Linked DNA regions of Homo sapiens: region 2 is linked to region 1. Evidence: promoter capture Hi-C in human tissues and cell types (Jung and others, 2019). All regions are on one chromosome and are shown on one strand. The core of a region is centred on a gene start or on the middle of the fragment in contact, and the rest is flanking DNA. Distances in the headings are between cores, read along the strand shown.

Region 1 (3,458 bases), core at 959-3,458:
CCCACCACCATGTCTGGCTAATTTTTGTATTTTTAGTAAGACAGAGTTTTGCCATGTTGGCCAGGCTGGTCTTGAACTCCTGACCTCAAGTGATCCACCTGCCTCGGCCTGCCAAAGTTCTGGGATTACTGGTGTGAACCACCGCACCCGGCCAGCACCGGGACATCTTACCTTGGCTAAGGTAAGTCAAGACATTGCTGAAACTATACAAATGAAAGGTTGGTCAAAGCTAACCATTTTAATCTAAATGTATACCACTCTATAAACCATCAATGTACAGCACTGTTTCAAATTTTAGAAGTTTTACAAATTTCCCAAAAAGCTGAGCAAAGAGTGAGAAAGCAGGCAAAGAGATAAACCAGCAACCAGATAACACAAGAAATATGACAATGTTATTTTAAACAATTTCAAACATATGTGATTCTTACCTGATTTCATTTCCAAAAGCGTATTGTTATCAATTTCATGGTTAGCTTTTCCAGGCTGAGGCACTCGTAATGGTATGATCTGAGGGACACACACTGAACCAGCAGTCATTTTCTCTCTCTCTCTCTCTCTCTATATATATATACATATAAATTCCAATGTACACAAAAGCTGAAGAGCAGCACTTAATTTAAATGCAGCAAAACTAGTTAAAACGAGAGAATACTGTTAACATGGCACTACAAATATTATTCCCTTTTTAATTGAAATAATAATTACATTTCATCTGTATTTGCTGTTGAGGTCTTGTGTGGGGTTTTGATTATCTAAATACCTCACTTCTGCGAAAGGAGCATGAATGAATGAGATGGGGAAAAGAAAGAAGTTACTTTAAAAGGACAAATTAAATGAGTAAGGCAAAACAGAGACTATCACTAACGCTCTGACTTGAGTTCCCTGTAAATCATTATCGCCTTTTCCTGCCTCTGGTGTGTGTCAGCTCTCTTGGCTTCAGGGCAAGTCATCATACAAGGGGAACAGAAGTAATTCTGTGTGTACCACAAAATGTTAGTTAGAGCTAACTTTTTTGGGAAAGCTCCGGGTTCACAGCCTTGCCATTATCACCAGAGCAGTTCTAGTATTTGAAAGCTGCAAAGACACTTTAGAAGGACTGCAGAGTACTACTTCTCAGTGGAAAGGAAGTTTGCAAGAATATAAACAGTGACCAATAAACACAAGCCTCCCGTTTCATCTACTGTATTTATAAATCCTGGTATTAATAATTAACTACCAGTATGAAAGCCTTACTGGTCTTTTTGGAGGTGAGGGTGGGGAGGAAGGTTGTCATAATTAATGCACAGAAGGTTTCAGGGGGAAAAAACGCTCACCTTAACACAACAACCATTTACATCTCTGTATTGCCTTTTCAAATTTCATTAATAATCCATAGATTTTGCCCAATTATAATCTACATATTCATTCCATTTTTATAGTCTACTTCTTGCATTCTCACTGTATTATTTAGTTTTCCCTGTACTTATTTATCCATTTGTGGCTGGGCATTTAGGCTATTTCTAGTTTCTTTTTAGTTTTGCCTGTTGCAGTTCTAATAATGCTGATCTGAACATGTCTGCAGTTTGAGCTTTGTCACAGACTGTATTCTCAAAAATGGGGTACCTAAATTTAAGGGGTGAACTTAATGCCTTGTTGGATAGTTCCGGATCTAGGGCCAAGAATATAAACTACAGATACTGACAGCACAACAATAGCTCCTACGGGAGTGTGGCTGGACTTGAGACTTGCCCATAGTCGCATTTCCATTTAAGTGAAAGGCAGATAAAATAAAAGTAGTTGAAAAATTCTAAATAAAAAATATGTAGGAGAGGAAGTAATTCGCGAGCGTCAACTAGCAGCTGCCCTTAGGAAGCTGGGGTGGCCAGTGGGCCCCACGCAAAGGGAATCAAGAAAAAAGGCGGATCCGCCAGGCCCAAATGGCAACGTGCAGTCAACAGGATCCCCAGACCCCTCAACTCTCCCAACGTGGACCGCCCCCTCGCAGCCCGGATCCGGAATCCCGTTTGGTTGTTCCCGCCCATCAGGGGCTGCCAAGGACACCTGCATCCTTTCGGCTGGAGTAAGGGAAGCTCTTCCCCTCCTCTAGCCGCCCTCCTCTTCCTCTAACCGCGGGGCCCGGGATCGGGACCCCTAATGCATCTCTGCCGCGCCCAACCCAGTCGCCAGCCTCTCACCGCCTCTTGCCTCCTCCTTCGCCGCCGCCCGGGTTACCACAGACGCGGCGAGCCGCGCCCCGCCCACTGGGTGCTGGGCAGATGATTGGTGGAGACTCAGCTTCTTAGCAACTAGACCGGCCCCTGCCGCTCCGCAGGGAGCCTGGTACCCGCCTGGAGTTCCTTTCCCAGTGCTTTCCCATAGGCATCTAAGAATATTCCTTCACAGAGTTGCCAAGTGCTAAAAGTTGGTTTCCCAACTCAGAATGAAGGAACCAGGCTTGTGCGTCCGATGGGCATTGACATTCTGGAAAACAAGAATAAGAAGCTGTAGCGGCGCCTGTAAGTGGGCCGGAGCAGGCGCAGCTTGGCCACCTCCCGCCGAAAGGCAAGGAAGGACCGGCTGCGACACGAGGAAGAAGGCCCCTCGGCCTCAGCAGAGCGCTATCCTCCACTGGTTCCCCGGGTTCCCCGGCTTGCTACCGGGCTGCTCCGTGCATCTTTCCCCCCAGGCGTCAGGAACTGCGCCCTCATGGCGGAGGTGAAGGTGAAGGTGCAGCCGCCTGACGCGGATCCGGTCGAAATAGAAAACAGGTAAACCAGTGAGGCTCCGGCTTGGCACTCCATCAGGCGCCCAGTCATTTGGGCAGCTGGACCCCTTCTCCGGGATCCCTTGGGAGTGGCCGGAGCGGGTTAGGTGAGCACGCGGGAAAAACGATTGCGGGGTTCTGGACCCACTTGTTCCTTCCCATCCTGGGAGAGCAGAACTCAAGAAGTTCAAAATGGGTTTGACAGCTTGCAACTTTGTGTAGCTGGCTGGCTTTGCCCTGATACTTTTGGGGAAGTTGTGATGACGTGCTGCCTTCCTACTTTGACGCGATCAGTGCTTTGAGAGGAGCCCTCGGCTTTCTTTCCCTGTAGAACACTTGTGAATACATGTTCTGATCCAGGATCGCTCTTGTCACTAAGGGAACGTCTATGACAAAACGTTTAGGCGGAGTTAGGGCGCAGTTGGTGATTACGAAGTAACATTAAGCCAGGTGGTTTCAGTGCAGTATTGAACTCAAGACTTTTAGGACACCCAAAGCCTCTGCCACTTTTATTTTTATTTGTTTGTTTGTGAGACAGAGTCTCGCTCTGTCGCCAGGCTGGAGTGCAGTGGCGCGATCTCGGTTCACTGCAATCTCCGCCTCCCGGGTTCAAGCGATTCCCCTGCCTTAGCCTCCCGAGTAGCTGGGACTACAGGCTCGCGCCACCACGCCCAGCTAATTTTTTATGTTTTAGTAGAGACGGGGTTTCACCATG
Region 2 (3,458 bases), core at 695-3,194, 52 kb before region 1:
CCTCTTCCTGGGCTGATGGCTGTCAGGAGGGGTTTATGGTCACTCATTTTCTCCTGCCTCTGCTTTTGAGAGGCTAGTTCCTGTTCCTTTTTTGCTAGCAGCTTGCCAGATGGGTAGAAGAGGCCAACAGTCTGTGTTCCTATGTCCCTCTTAGTCCCAACATCAGATCTGGGCAAAGGAATATTCAGGGACTGCCAGGCACATCGGGGCCATGCGTGAGGCAGAAGACATTTTTAAAATTAGAATATAATTTAATCAATCTTGCATTTTACTTATAGAAAACAACTCTAATCAGAATAAAAAGTATCTCAAGAAAAGTGTACTTGGAACTAATAGGGTTTTCCAGCCTTTGCCTCATCTTCCTTGCTCCTGTCTTTCTCAGCAACTTCCAGCCTGATCCAGGATTAGCCATTTATTATCTAAAAGTCAGCAAATCAAGGGGTGTTTGCCGGCCTGCTTGATGCCTGGAAGATATCTATCCTTTTCAGCTCTGTAATCCAATAGAGCATAGACTTCACTACTAATCCACACTCAGCCACTGGTCACCAACATTTTCTCTAACATACTTTCCTGCATCTAAACCTGGGGACCTGAGAGGACTACCATGAAAGGTTGTGCGTTGCACAACGTCACTGCATTCAAAGTAGTACCATTCATATGGTGAACATCATATATTTGCATATGTATTAGGGTAATTTTTCTAGTAGAGAAACCAGTATATTACAAGCAATTTCCAATAGATGGCAGTCAAGTGTCTTGAGAAAAGAACACCTTTGTTTCATTTGCACAAAGGAATAAGGGCTAGTGGCAGTTTAGGATTTAAATCTTTCAAACTGGGTTAAGAAAGCCATGAACGGCTGGGCATGGTGGCTCATGCCTGTAATCTCAGCACTTTGGGAGGCCACGGTGGGTGGATCACGAGGTAAGGAGTTCGAGATCAGCCCGACCAACATGGTGAAACCCCATCTCTACTAAAAATACAAAAATTAGCCGGGCATGGTGGCACGGGCCTGTAATCCTAGCTACTCAGGAGACTGAGGCAGAAGAATTGCTTGAACCTGGGAGGCAGAGGTTGCAGTGAGCCAAAATTGCACCATTGCACTCCAGCCTGAGCAACACAGCGAGACTCTGTCTCAAAAAAAAAAGGTCATGAACTCCCTAAAACTGCATACAAAGTGCTGAGTGTATCCTCTAATAATGATCAATCTTTAACTTCTTATAATAAAGAGATAAGAAGAAACATGGAAAGTCTTTATCCAGCTTAGAGAAATGTATAAAATTATAAAAATCTAACACAAAGCCAGTTGTTAGAGCTTAAGTACTTCTGAAAATAACCTGGTGAGATTTGTCCTCAAACTATGCCCAGCTGTTATAAATTACAAAAGCAATCTTATATACCCTAAGCTTTCTAAAATATAAAAAAGGGGAAGGAAAAGTTCTCAGAATGCTACATAAGAAATTCAAGAGAAGTGCATTCTGTCTCATGTATTTTAAAGCCACTAAAGTGGCATTATGTCTACGGCCTTGCAAATGCAATTAAAATCTAAATTGACTGCATTTATTTACACACCTAGTTGAAATTCCATGTGAAAGTTCTAAAAGTTTTGGGTCTCTTCCCCGGGTTGATTCACAGGGTGGAGCACACACATTCAGAGTTACAGCCTCTTCCTGGGTACCAGTTCTTACTACAGGGGAGGCCTCACCTCAGAAAAAGGGCGAGGTTCCTCAGCAGCTAGAGCCAGGCTTCTGTCCAAGCTAAGTTTCACTAGGGACTTCACACAAATACCACAGGAGCCACAGAATCGGGCAGACAGGTGATTGCTGGCCCCACATTTAGGGCAAACAGAACAGCCAGCAGGAATGCCGAGCTAGAGGATAGAAAATATCTTGATGAATATTAGAGTTATAATTTCCTCATGTAAATTATTCTCATACCATACAAATTAACATATGCCCAGACTCTCTGACCCAGCCATTCTACCTTCCAGAATTTATCCTACAGATGGACAAGTACAGAAAGAAGTGTACTCCAGGTCAACCCCTAAAACACTGTGGTTTTAAAAGAAATCACTGAAAACAACACACATGTCCAGCAATAGGGATGGTCTAAATATAACACAGTACATACATACAAACAATGGATTATGAAGTCACTGAAAAGAATGAGGAGGTTACTAACAAGACACCTTGCTAGGTGAAAATAATTGGGTCAGTGTTCATAGCACCAGTTTACTTATACATGCATTGAATAGCTGAAAGAACATCTCAAGAACTGGATCTGAGCAATTGCTTCTGAGAGGAGAACTGTGGGACTTAGAGAGAGAGGAGACTAACCCTTCACTCTAAAACTTTTTTGTTATTTGCATGCGATACTTAAATAAATACATAGTCTTGAGTGTTTTATTATAAAGGCAGGCAGACATAATTCATTTTAAAAAATGCCAGTAGTCAATAAACGAGTGAAAAGGTTTAACCTCAAAGAAATGCAAGTCAAAACAGTCATCAGAGATGGCTCTCAGTGTAAGATAATTAATTATCTCTATCTCCAGATTCTTAGGTTATAGGTACCAGTAGCGAAATCACAAGAAGTGATTTCTGCAAGGCCATGGAAGAAGTGCCTGGCTCTCTCCAGGCCAGTGGTGAGGTGCTCAGTATACAGAATCTCAGTTTTAAAATACCCACCATGGCTCCACACCAGCCGCAGAAGGACGCCTCCCAGAGATTCCAGCGACCACATCTGTAGCAGGAAATGGTCCCCCCTTTCTGAGTGGGCGGAGGAGGGGCTTTATCCCCACTGCACATCGACTGGTGAATGAAATGGCATTTAAAGGCAGGATCAGTACTATATTCTCTAATCCCCCTCCCAATTCAAAAAAGATAAAAAATTCCCAGACAAGATGAGCCCCGGAAATAGTGTTTTTTTTGTTTTGTTTTGTTTTGTTTTTTTCCCAAAGGAGTACAGCTATGATGAGTTTCACCAATTAATAAATTAGTACATAGAGCTCACATTCCTTCATGGAGATAACAGAAAGTCAATGAAACTGGTACCTTGCACATCTTAATATTTTTCAATATCTTTAATATCAGGGATAGCAAGCCCTACTGTTGATTTAACAGAACAATATTAATGAAGGAAGAAGAGAGCTAAGCTACCTGAGCGGTCATGATTGAGGCTTATCTTCTATCCTTTGGAGTTTTGGTTTCCATAGAAAAATGTGACTTCATTTCCCATTCTTGACACATGAGAACAATTATTTTATATTGGGGACAGAGGCAGAATTGTTTTGTGAGAATTCCTGGGACTATGTTAGGTAAACCTATATTTGAATCTGTTGCTTCCTCACTATTGCCTGGTAGGAGACTTGCTCACTTCCCAAATGGGAGTGACAGCACAGTGGCTGCTACCTGACCACCCACCATGTGCAGGCTCCATTCCCACACTGCCCTGCACCCTCACG

Evidence for each region. The method cuts DNA at HindIII sites, captures the fragments that hold promoters and counts their contacts. A contact is called where the count stands out against the background at its distance.
Region 2: a fragment that was not itself captured here is called in contact with the fragment with the promoter of DZANK1 in region 1 in 2 of the 25 tissues and cell types used here (dorsolateral prefrontal cortex and mesendoderm cells).

Annotation. Positions count from the first base shown.
Region 1 is chr20:18,464,822-18,468,279 of GRCh38, forward strand. It overlaps DZANK1 (double zinc ribbon and ankyrin repeat domains 1), which reads right to left and starts at 2,209. Exons shown (of 21, transcript NM_001367614.1): 1 at 2,175-2,209; 2 at 429-556. The coding sequence starts at 537. It overlaps POLR3F (RNA polymerase III subunit F), which reads left to right and starts at 2,569. Exons shown (of 9, transcript NM_006466.4): 1 at 2,569-2,747. The coding sequence starts at 2,686. RefSeq lists enhancers at 2,089-2,707, 2,330-2,649. The HindIII fragment of the contact is 23,548 bases long and covers 1-3,458 here.
Region 2 is chr20:18,412,645-18,416,102 of GRCh38, forward strand. It overlaps DZANK1 (double zinc ribbon and ankyrin repeat domains 1), which reads right to left. Exons shown (of 21, transcript NM_001367614.1): 11 at 2,683-2,805; 12 at 1,704-1,868; 13 at 2-209. Among named protein-coding and RNA genes, the nearest start is that of LINC00851, 35 kb to the left of the region's middle. RefSeq lists a silencer at 858-907. The HindIII fragment of the contact is 5,054 bases long and covers 1-3,458 here.